Linked DNA regions of Homo sapiens: region 1 is linked to region 2. Evidence: promoter capture Hi-C in human tissues and cell types (Jung and others, 2019). All regions are on one chromosome and are shown on one strand. Each heading gives the region's core, a stretch centred on a gene start or on the middle of the fragment in contact. The rest is flanking DNA. Distances are from core to core; before and after follow the strand shown.

Evidence for each region. The method cuts DNA at HindIII sites, captures the fragments that hold promoters and counts their contacts. A contact is called where the count stands out against the background at its distance.
Region 1: the fragment with the promoter of SYVN1 here is called in contact with a fragment that was not itself captured in region 2 in 1 of the 25 tissues and cell types used here (dorsolateral prefrontal cortex).

Annotation. Positions count from the first base shown.
Region 1 is chr11:65,131,725-65,137,786 of GRCh38, forward strand. It overlaps SYVN1 (synoviolin 1), which reads right to left and starts at 2,795. Exons shown (of 16, transcript NM_172230.3): 1 at 2,732-2,795; 2 at 1,746-1,894; 3 at 1,436-1,528; 4 at 1,198-1,350; 5 at 1,008-1,056; 6 at 524-627. The coding sequence starts at 1,877. RefSeq lists enhancers at 626-675, 2,176-2,245, 2,534-3,437, 2,796-3,305 and silencers at 1,398-1,574, 3,291-3,474. The HindIII fragment of the contact is 5,976 bases long and covers 1-4,641 here.
Region 2 is chr11:64,770,088-64,776,407 of GRCh38, forward strand. It overlaps SF1 (splicing factor 1), which reads right to left. Exons shown (of 13, transcript NM_004630.4): 3 at 3,343-3,418; 4 at 169-321. Among named protein-coding and RNA genes, the nearest start is that of SF1, 5.3 kb to the right of the region's middle. RefSeq lists an enhancer at 2,649-2,738. The HindIII fragment of the contact is 3,858 bases long and covers 3,132-6,320 here.

The sequences.
Region 1 (6,062 bases), core at 1,545-4,044, 360 kb after region 2:
CTCCTAGCCCCTCCACTTACTAGCTGTGACTTTTGGCAACTCAGTGAACCTCAGTTTACTTATCTATAAAATGACATAATTAACTGTTCCTTTATAACAGTATTGTCTTGCTGAATAAGAGATGCAGGTCAGGAGCTCAGCATAGGGCCTGGTGTGAAATTCGCACTCAACAAATATGAGCTGTTGTCACTGAACACATTCTCTCTCTGCCAGGGACACGCCTCCAGTTGTCCATGGAACTAATCCTCTCCTGTCCATTACCAGCTAGCTCCGGCACGAGCCTCCAGGAACCCTCTCCTGAGCCCCAGGTTGGGGCTCCTCCTCTGTCCTAGCCTCTTTGTGCGTCTCCCCAGTCACCTAGGAGTGAGCGTGTGGAGGGCAGGAGCCATATCTGATCACTGCCCCTTGGTGGCCAGCACAGGTTGGCCACATAGCAGGTGCTGAGGAAGGGTCTGTTGGGTTATTCAAGGCACATGTGGGGTCACCTCGGGCTTGTCCTCTCAACCTCCCAAGCCAGTTTTACCTCAAAGCCAAACACCAGCTGCACAGAGGCCCCACGGGTCAGGATGCTGTGATAGGCGTGGCTGACGAAGAGGAAGTCCAGGATGCCCAGGAGGAACATAAGAGCTGTGGGGACCCCCACACATGCAGGGTGGGGGGGTCAGCCCAGGGCCCAACAGCTGTTTAATGCTCTAGGACAGCCCCACCCTCAAGCCCACCATGGCCCCAGCGATCTAGTCAGGTGGGCACACTCCACTGAACCTGGCCCTCTGGGAACTTCCTGGGGGAGGGGGAGTTGTTGGGGCTGCCCAGGCTGCAGGTGAGAAGGCAAAGGGCTGAGGGCCCAGGCAGTTGAGAAGCCCTAGAGTGGAACAGCACAGAGACTATGCAAATTAACTTCCTAAATTATCTTTCCTGTACAGCTGTGGGGGGTAGCCTGTGCTCTGGAGTACAGGTCCACGGTTCACGTTCCAGTCCTCCCTTCCCCTCCCCTGAATCTCACTCACAGACAATGCGGCAGTGAAAGAGCCAGGAGATGTTGGGGCTGCGTTCCATCTGAGGCAGAGCACAGAAGAGGCCTGTCAGGAGGCCTGGGGCTCACCCCACACCCTCAACCTAGCCCTCCCTGCTCCTTAAGCCTGCCCGCTGGCTACTCCCTGGCTTCCACCTGCTCCAGAACTCCCTGCCTTGACTCACAAAGTCCACACGGTCCTCAGCCAGCCAGTGGAAACATTTGAGGAAGAGAAGAAGAGTGAAGAGTGCAACAAAGCGGGGGCTGAAGTCATCCCGAAAAACGGTGAAGGCCAGACAAGTCTCTGTGACGGCGTACCAGGAACGTTCCAGAAGGTGCTGGGGGCCAGGCAGGGAATAATGTGGATACCAAACATTCTTTCCCAGCACCCTGCCCTCACCTTTGGGGCAGCCGACATCTTACCTCCATCTCTGCTGCCCTCAGTTGCCCAAAGAACACCTTGCCCATCACCTTGCCCAGAAGGAAGACAAGGACAAAGGCCTGGATGTACAGGACCTAGGAGTGGGGAGAGGCTGTGGTTTGAGGTCACTTTCTGCTTTCCTCTCCTTGGGACTCATCATGCAGGATCCTCCACATCCTCATCACAGTTTATTCAAAGTTAGGCAGCTGGCGGCTACTTCCCTACTTACCTGACCTCTAGCCCCGCCCCTTGCCCAGGCAGACTCCTCCTTCCCTCCCAGGGAGTTCCTCCCTCCCTGAGCCCTGAACTCACTGCCATGCTGGGGCTGGACTTGGTCAGGTACACCACAGTGGGGTAGAACTGGTGTTTGAGGTAGTAGGCGTGAGCCACCACAGCCCCGGTCAGCGCCAGGCTGGCCGCCATCATCACTGCCGTGCGGAACATTGCCCTGGCCCGGAGACCTGCATGGGGCAAGAAAATAACTTATGTGATGCTCGTGCTGTGCAAAATAGCCCGGTGCCTGGCACAGCCTCAATTCATAGGAGAAAGTGGGGGGGAAATCACATTTCGCCCTCGAAATCATCAGACAAAGAATAGCTTACGCTACCCCATTTTACAAATTAGACTCGAAGGGGTTAAGTGATCACACTGACGCAAGGCCTGGAACCTGGGTCAGTCTTGCTTCAAATCTAGGGCTCTTTCCACGCTGCCTGCCAAGCCGCCTCCTCTAGGGAGGTGATGAGGAAAAGCTGCAATGTTGGAGGAGGGGGAGCTGCACCGCTGACCCTCCGGTGGAGAAGATGGGGTGGGAGGCAACAGCAGAAATCTGCTCCAGGGGCGGGAATGCGCAGCCAGGGCTGAGAGCAGCCAAGGCACAGAGGATAGCAGGCTGGGCAGGCGACAGCGCCGGTGACAGCTGTGTTAGGGTGGGCAGTTCGGACGCCCGCCCTGCGGGAGCGGGCGGGGAACGTCAGCCTGGAATCCTGGGGTCCCCCGACCCCCGGAGTAGTGTCAACTCAGAGCACCACAAAAACAGCGGGACGGGAGAGAGCAGCAGCGGGACGGGAGGAGCCGGGTCGCCCTCGCGGCCGCGCACCTGTGAGCACCAGGAGTTGCGGGCGTCGCAGGCAGGGCCCAGGCTTGAGCAAAGCGGCCGCACCGGCGTCTGAGGTCTCCGGCCAGCTGACAGGCCGAAAGCGTGCGGCGGGGCTGAGGGGCGTGCCGACTCCGGAGACCTCAAGGGGAAGGTTCGGGTCCCGACCCCAACCACAACTCGGGCCAGACTTCGCCCCACTCACCAGGAACCCAGCGCCGCGAGCCCGCTCAATCCGCGCGACTGCGGCTGCCCCTCCGGTTAACAACACTCCCCACCCCCTGCGAACCGGAACTTCGGGGGTCAGACACCTCACTTCCGGCGGCGCGGGGCGCGGCGTGGGTCGTACCAAGTGCGTCCTGCCCTGGCTCGCACTGCGCCCTACGTGGGCCCATAGCAATGGTGTCACCACCGTATCTGGGGTGATGTCTACGGGGAAGGGCTGGGCAAGAGGTCCGAGAGGTGGTCGGAAGGTAATAAGGCAACAGGGGGGAGTCGGAGGTCCCCCTATTATTTATTAGTCACAGATGGTATGGCTCCTGCGCTGAGTGGCCTCCTCGGACTGGGGGACTCGGCCCCGCGAGCAGCTGGGAAGGGGAGCCGCTTGCGGGCTGTACCACCTGGAGCGGGGAGTAGGCCAGGGACAGACTATACAAGCCTGAGGGGAATGAAATGTTTTCTTAAACATTTAGGGAGAGTCACAACAGTTTGACAAATACGGTGCTCTCTGAGAGAACTGGATGCGGAAAACAAAAATTTGTCTTCTCCATGATCACCCCCACAAGTTGTGTGGGAGTGAGTTGGGTCCCGTGGCTGCCACTGATTGGTTGCGATAAGTTACGCGGCCCAATAAGAAAAAGAATGTACCTTTGCTGGCCTATAGAAAGGGGAAAGCAGGTGAGTGGTTGTTAGGGGCGGACAGCTGCGTTGCCTAGGCCCTGGTCCCGCTCCAGTTGGCTGAGAGTAGGGAAAGCTCAGTCCTTGGGCGAGTGATCCCTGGCTGGCCTCCGGGAACGTTTGCCGCGCCAGGACAGGGAGGGACAACCAGGTGTACCCGAGACTGGGAGATTAATTCCTGCTAATCTTGGGACGGAAGTGTTCTGTTTGTTCAAAGGAATTGACTTCAGCGTCGCAGGCCTGCCCGCATCTCAGTGTCTGATTTTGCTGCCCATGTGTTGTTCAGCTCTGAGCCATAAGCAAGACCCCCACTGGTCCTGGGCTGCACTGTATTTTAGTTCGTGTCTGGGTCGCAGCCAACTAAGCCTGCTGATTAACAAAATGGAGCTAATGCATCCACTTTGTGCCTTGCGTTTTCCTCCGTCATCTCATTTAATCATCAATCACTAAGGTTTATGAGCTAGGGGGTGCTACCCCCTCCCCCGAAACGTGGGGCAATTGAAATTCAAAGGCTTACCAAAACCTGTCCTAGGATTGGCGCCAGGTCTGTCTGCCTCTAAATCTCTGTGCTGTTGGTCTCAGCCATCTTCCCTGCCACCTGTTGACTTGACAGTTTCAGCTTATAACCAGTCAGAGTTGGCTTCCCCGTAAGGCCACGTATAACTTTTTTTCCCCCTTTTCTTTTTATTTATTTATTTATTAATTTTTGCGACAGGGTCTTGCTCTGTCGCCCAGGCTGGAGTGCATTGGCGCCATCAGGGCTCATTGCAGCCTCGACCTCCCGGGCTCAAGCGATCCTCCCACCTCAGCCCCACAAGGTGTTGGGATTACAGGCGTGAGCCACAACACCTTGCCTATCTGTAACTTTCTAGTGACTGCATCCAATGGTTGGCTTTCAGCCCTTGCTTGACTCAACCTCTCTCCCCTTCTTGAAAGTCTCCTCCCTAAGCTTCTGTGATCCACATGCCTCTGCTCCTCTTTTCTCTCTGGCTATGCATGTGTCCTCTTCTCTTTACCTGATGTCCTTCTCTTTACTTTTCCTGCATGATTTCCTCTGCTCCAGTCCAGCCCCTGACCCAGGTGCTGATGATTTCCTTGTGTGGTCTCCAGCCGGGATCTATCCTGCTTTTAAAACAGTTCAGTGTCCCTAGACACTGTCTGCACCCCAGCTCCGGAAACGGGCATCATGCTCACTATCTGCCCCCACATCCAAACTGGTAATTAAGTCATTTATTCAGTTAGTCTACAAATATGGATCAAGTGTCTCCTGTTCTAGGGACTTAGGATGTCAGTGAACAAAATAAAGATCTCTACCTTTGTGGAGCTTATCCTAGTAGATGTGACAGCAAACCACAGACATAAGTGAAAAATCTAATACGCTGGAAGATGATCAGTGCTATAGGAAAAAAGTAGAACAGAATAAAGGGGATCAGGATGTGGTGGGGTACTTGAAGCTGGTTGCAGTATCAGCGAGGATAATCGGGTAAGCTTCCTTGAGAAGGTGACATTTGAGCAAAGACTTAAAGGAAGTGAGGTTATGAGCCAAGTGGATGTCTGGGTAAAGAGTTACAGCTCAATAAAGGTGGAGCAGTGCTGCTTTGTTGAAGGAGATGAGTGTGGCTATAGTGGAACTAGTGAAGGGTGCGTAGGAAAGAGGCCAGGGCAAGATCGCATTGGCCATCACAGGGACCTTGGCTTTTCCTCTGAGTGACGTGAGAAGTCATTGGAGGGTGCTGAGCAGAGGTGTGACATGCTCTGACTTAGGTGTAATAAAGTCACTCCAGGCTGGGTGTGGTGGCTGACCCTGTAATCCCAGCACTTTGGGATGCCAAGGCGGTTGGATCACGAGGTGAGGAGATCGAGACCATCGTGGCTAACACGGTGAAACCCCGTCTCTGATAAAAAAACACAAAAATTGGCCGAGCTTGGTGGCGGGCGTCTGTAGTCCCAGCTACTCCGGAGGCTGATGCAGGAGAATGGCGTGAACCTGGGAGGCGGAGCTTGCAGTGAGCTGAGATCGTGCCACTGCACTCCAGCCTGGGCAACAGAGCGAGACTCAGTCTCAAAAAAAACTAAAAAAAAAAAAAAAAAAGTCACTCCAGCTCCTGTGTTGGAATAATCTGTAGTGGGGAGGAAGGCAAGTGTGGGAGCAGGGAAACCAGTTAGGAGGCTCTTGCGGTGCAATAGGCAAGAGAGGACATCCTGTGGGTTCTACCTCCTGAGTGTCTCTAGAATTCATTCTTTCCTTGCCATTTTCACTGCCAGTGTCCTAGTCCAGACCATCATCATCTCATGCCTGGGAAAATGCAACAGTCCCCTTTCCTGTGCTTTCCTCCTCATCCGTTTTCCATAGAACGGCCAGAGAGATCTCCTGACACCTGAGCTCACGTCTTGCCTTCCCTCCCACACTCTGCCCTTCAGGCATAATGCCCAGTTGTGGGGTCTCAGGTGTACCATCCCTACCATGCCCCAGGCAGGCCCATCACCTTTTGCATATGTCTTTCCTTCTCCCAGGAACGTCTTTCTCCTCAAATATCACAAAAAGCATTGCCTACTTCCTCAGGCTGGGGTGGAGTGCATGCCATCATGGCAGGCTAATTAAAAAGAATTTTTTTTGTAGCTACAAGGTCTTGCTATCA
Region 2 (6,320 bases), core at 3,811-6,310:
TGGAGAATGACACAGCCAGCGGCTTTTCTAAAACCAAATATTGGTACCAAGTGCTAATTATGGGTGACTTGAGGCAAGAGGTGAGTAGTACCAATACTGTCCCATCCCAGCAGGTCACCCATGATCTGCATGTGTCTTCATCCCAGATGACCGAGCCCCTCCGCTTACTTGTAATCTGCAGGTGGCTTGAAATCCGGATTGAGTGCAACCATCTCTGTGATGAGGTTGTGCCGCTCCTCTTCCAGCTTTTTGCGGGTGCGGAACTCTCGGGTGTTAAGCCGCTTCCCCTCGCTATTGTAGATGGGCTCAGGGGAAGGGGACCTGTGGGAAACAGACTCCCGTTTACTATTCTGCACCGACTTCTCTCATTCCCACACGGACTATAACAAGTCTTTCCCAGCCCCTCTGCCTCTCAGACCCTAATACAACACTCTTCGGAGGAACCGACCATAACGTGTGCTACTCAAGATCGTGTGGAATGGGGAGATGGAAGCTGGCTTAACGTTAGGGGTCTGGGGTGTGTGTGAGAAAGGAAAAAAATAAAAGATTTTGCATCTAGAAGTGATGAGAGGAAAAAATGTCTATTCTTTGGGGAAAATCTTTGGACTGTAAGTGGCAAGGACAGTATCATCCCCTGGAGTCTTCTTGCCAAATACGGATTTTCTTCCATTTGAAAAAAAATACATATCCCAACTTTATGAACCACAGAAACCCCAAGTTTAGGCAAAAGGTTAACTCTTGGAGAGCTCATGCCCTATGAGGAAAAGCTTCTGTACCCCTAACACATAGTATGTATGAGCTCTTTAACCCAATGCAACTGGGACTGAAGGCTACTGCAGCTACTTGGCCCCCACAATGGAGAGAGATGGTTCGCTTCGTCTTTGCTTTTCCTTCAATGGCCTGGCTGGCTGTGTCCAAGGCCCAGGAGACAACCTGTTTTCTGGCTGTTCGAGGTTGGGGAGTCTGGGTAGAGAAAAACGTTAAAGTGCTAAAGCAGCTTCTGCGAGAGGCTGCAAATGCAGATTTGGTCATACTTGTCTAGGGTCTGAACCTGCAAACAGCAAGGGGAAAACCTATGATTCTCCACCAGAGTTTACAAGTCCAGAAAGCAGATTTTCTCTCTCTCATTTTTTTAAGGAGTAAAATGCTGTTGCTACAAGTAAAAAAATGTAATGATAAAATGGTCAGTTTACCACAGCTGGATTTTGCGGTAATAAAAAAGAGAGGTTACACTCCTAGAATTTTGAGTTAAGATTACAAAAAGGACCATAGCTTGATATTCTGAATGAAAATTTAGTAGCAGCTGCAAGAAGGGAAGAGACCATGTGGATCAGGTTATTAAAAAAACATACTGAAAGTAATCAAGACTCCTATACCCTTGGTTTAGTTGAGAGAACCTTGCCTAGTTGGAGAGCAAGGACTGAACTCGGCTGCTCCCACTGTCTTCAGCCTAAAGGGAACCATGTCACACCACGTTACACACACGATGGAATAAAAGGTCAGGTTTGTTCATGGCTAATGACGGCTAAATGACACCTCCGTTTCTAGCATTTGTATAAACTGTTAGCACAATCCATTAAGAGTGAACAAAAGCAAACATACCCCAGCTCATTAGACTACCATCTTATACATTTAAGTCTACAAGAAAAGTTTTAAACATGTTTTTACTGTGCAAGTTAAGCAGCATCAAAATAACAATAAAGTGGCTTAAGTGATATAACACCTTTTTAAGAAATTATCTTAATTAAGAAAACCCATGCATTTCCCTCCAACCTGGGCTCAAAAGCAAAACCAATCAGGCATTAGGGCCTCTTTCAAAACTGAATAGAAGGGAGGAAAAACCCTGCTCTGGTTTTATTTCTAACATGCTTGACATTTCTAATTCCCACCCCACAGCTGTCTAGAATTAAGCATTCTTAGCTAGTTACAAAAACAAGTCTTACCAGCACCCAATTGGCCATGTGAAGGCCTCACAACAGTTTAACCTCCTCCCAAATTGCAGAAGTGAAAGGCAAAAGCTAGTATTCTAGAGGTTAGACTGGCCCGACTTCTTCACCTCCAACAGGCATCGGCTAGATCAACTAAATTCTAATCCCAGTTATCCAGGAAGCAAAGAAGGTTTGTTAAAAATTCAACCTTTGGAGGAATTGACTGGTGACCTGTAGACATATTATTAAAGGGAAAAAGGCCAAAAAGGCACTAAACAGTTGTGGTCTATGACCTACAATGTAAATTTAAAAAAAAAAAAAATCTTCAAAAAGAAACGAAACACAACACAACCCTACAACCAAAATCTATCTATAGGTAAAATATAGCAAATGTAGTAAGTCAAATTAAAGAGTCAATATGGAGAAACAAGGAAGTTAATGTTTCCTGGCAAAGGGCGGAAGAAAGATGCATGAGTGAGTGACTTCTAAAGCCATTACATCATCTTCCTGATTTAATAAGCTATTAACTGGGTAACAAAAACCAAAAACACTACTTTTTAAAGCAAAGTCTTTTCAACTATTCTGTATGTACTAAGAGAAAATTCAGTGAGAGGGAGAGACTTACTGCCCTTCTAATTAAATGACCAATTTTAGCTGTTCAATCAGCTAATAAAATTCCAGTTTAAAAAAGTTCATCTCCCCCACACAATTTATTTTTCTGAGGTGAGAGAAACTGCAAACTGAAATGACATGACCACAGCTGTTTGAGGCCCACGCTCCCTTTAAGGAAAAAAAAAAAGTAATTTAGGGTTGGTTGCATGCCTTCCCAAAATAGGTGAGAATATTCTGGCCCCTCCCAACACCCCCAAGGCAATGGCCAAGGCTGAAAGTTAACTGGCAGTGAAAGAAGTTGGTTAGAAATCTCATCTGATTTTGAAACCATCTCAAAACCATGAGCAGGAAGACTGCAGCAATGAGCTGACCAGAGCTCCTGGCTTGCTCAAGTTCAGTGATGCTCAAAAATATTTTTAGTCCCTGCACTGTGTACCTGTGAGAAAAACTCTATGCCCTGGGCTTTTGGCCAAAGCAGGTACTGAAAAGGCAGGTTAACGGGCCACCTCACTGTCCCCTAAGGGTGGGTAAATCAGGTTAAGATCTACATGCTTACCAATTGGAAACCAGTTGTCCATTTTCCTGTAACTTTTTATTCTCCCAACATTTTTAAGTTTTATTCCAATTTTCTAACTGTTGACTGACCATACATATTTCTAATTAAACCTTAATCCCCAAAGTGGTCAGGGTACAGTCGTCATACTATGATTTTATTGAACTGACACAATATGTTGCCACCAGTAAAACGTATTGAGAAAAAGGTAAAAGCGTTACTGTCAGCTGGTTAAAACTGTTTCCCAACCTGTCCTCAGGGTTAGGGGGGATGCCCAGGTCTCCTGTGCGCAGTTTACGAGTCAGGTCTTCTATCTGCAGTTGCACTGGAAGAAACCAGGTTAGGAAAGAAAAAAAAGGATGGAAAAAAGACAATGTTACCAATAAACATCTCAAATCTCAACAACAAGCATGAAGAACTCGGAGACTTTGAAAGGGACGACTGATCAGTGAACACATTGAAGCAAAAACCCCCAACCACCTATCGGCAGGAGTCCTTTTACATCTATAGGTTTTTTTCACTTCAAAATGGTTATCACTTAAGGAAGCAAACAGTTTGTTGGAAGAGGGGTTAGCAATAAAGACTGTTCACTAAGGCTAACATCCAAGCAATTATTAGGAGGTGTTTCACCTCTTCCTCCCCACCAAGGCTTGCTTACCATTGGTACCCAGAACCATAAACCATGTTACGTCACCAATACCCGACTCCCATCAAATTACTTGAGGGCAAGAATTGAGTTTTTTCTTCATTAAATGTTAAACATAGCCCAAAATGAGACCCAATTAACATGGGACAAGGAAAAATACCAATTGAGCAAAGATCATTTTCATTAATACATTTAAAATTCCTTAAATAAGACATTTAATAACAAAATTCAACACCTTATAGAAATTTGTACATACTCTTTCTGTACAACCAGACCTGTACTAGTAAGGGTCTCCCAATACCTGCAGCTCTTATTCAATTATATGAAATATTTATTCAAATATTAAATGACAAACCACATATCTTAATAAACCAGTAACCATAAAGTGCTAAGAATTTGTTTTCAGGCTCACTGTTCATATGGGGAGCAGGCGTGTAGAAGAATGGAATGTGTGTTCAAGGACAATGTACTTGGCCCTCGGGCCTTGACCAATGAGGCTGTGCATGAAAAAGAGAGATGAGGGTTTCACAAAAGTTGCCAGTGACGCCAGGGAAATGTTACACAGCTGATTTTCCAAGATAATGGGAACTGCAGAGCCAGAGCAGCTTTCTTCAACATGCGGAATAACCACCTGTTCCTTACCTTCGCAGCATCTGAGAATTTTCAGCAGGCATCTCCAATAAGGGCAAATGTTACTAGGTTGGGTTAAAACTGAGCTGGCTCCAAGATAGGATTAATGCGTGTCTAACCAAAGATTCCTTCTAACTTTAAATACATCCACAGGGCTATACCACACCCACACACTAAAACCCTGAAGAAATGAAAACCCATTATTATCGAAAGAAAATACTGGCCGGGCACAGTGGCTCACACCTGTAATCCCAGTACTTTGGGAGGCCAAGGCAGGCAGATCATGAGGACAAGAGATCGAGACCATCCTGGCCAACATGGTGAAACCCCGTCTCTACTAAAACTACAAAAAAAATTAGCTGGGCATGGTGGCGTGCGCCTGTAGTCCCAGCTACTTGGGAGGCTGAGGTGGGAGAATCACTTGAACCCGGGAGACGCAGGTTGCAGTGAGCCGAGATCGCACCACTACACTCCAGCCTGGCGACACAGCAAGACTCAGTCTCTCAAAAAAAAAAAAAAAAAGATATTGAGGGCATCCTGGACAAAGCAGTATGTACCGTGGGAGACAGAAAAGTAGTAAGACACATGGTTCCCCAAGCTCCTTTATGCCTAAAAAGTTCTGACTTTGCAGTTGAGTATTAAGCTCAACAACTCGAGGTGAAAGTCACCTTCACTGAGGGGAGAAGGTGAGTCTTCCTAGCTGACTATGGAGATGTGGGGCCTGATCTAAATAAAAAGGGTCATTCTCTTCTGTGGAGAACTACACCTCTCCTTTGATTCTATTTTGATTATAGCTATAAATAGTCCTTAGGGCCCAGTGAACTAACTAGCCCTCCACAAAAACAGAAATGGAGATATAAAGAATTTGTGCTCTTCCCATCTTCTAAGTATGCTTGTGTTCTTGGGATATCACTCCACTAGGGGCATTTCACAAGGATGTAAAGACCCAGACTAGTCTAATATGAGACACAATGGAATGGGTGGGAGTAGACAGGAACAGTAGGGGAAAGAACAAGTATTAGTAGTACTGTGAAAGGAGACAGACAATTCCAACGCCTCAAAATTCTCAGCAGTCTAAAAAACAGGAAATTAAGACCCTCAAAAGTAGTAACATGCTGGCCTTGAAGCTTTTTGGTTGTGAAGGCCACAGCCTCGTAGGTTTAGGAGGTCTTTGCCCGAATTTCCTCCAAAGGGGATGTTTATTTGGTTAGTAGGAAATGTTTATAAAGTGAACTTTTTTGAGACAGCTGCACAGGTATATAAAGATAAAACTTGCATTAAAAACTTTTTTTTCCAAAAAAGCAATTTTGAGGTTAATTTCAATTCCACTGTGGATAGTCATTAATTCTCAAAACCTCCCAGCAAATAAAACCTTTTTATCCTAGCACTTCATTCCATATCCATGCAATATCCCTTTCCCAGCAGAGTTCTTTAAAAGTAAATACAAGAGCCTTCATTTTAAGACAGCTCTCCATAGACCAAACCAGAAAAGATGTTGAAGGGAAGGTTAAACTCTTAAATTCAAGAAAATAAAAAGGGGTAAATTGTAAACACACTTTCAGAACCACTTTTTGTCATTTTTTTTTTTTCAGAAAGTACCTATAAAAAGTAAAAGACCACATTTTAGGGGGAGAAATATAAAATTATGGTGAAAGGCCACGCTGTGAAAAGTACTTGGTTTACAGTACCTGCGGTGTTCTCCACTGGGGCCTGTCCAGAGAGGCAGATGACACTCACCTCATCAACTGGCAATGAACAGCAGCTGAAAAGGGTGGCTGCTGGACTGGGGACTGTTCTTACTCCTAAGTGAAACCCTACCTTCCTGATACTCATGGAGAACACTGCAGTTACGAACAGACCAAAACAAGGAGCTGCAAATGCAGAACTCACTGGGCAAAAACTGACAGATGATACCAAAGTCGTGAAAGTATCTCATCTCAAAAAAGATAAC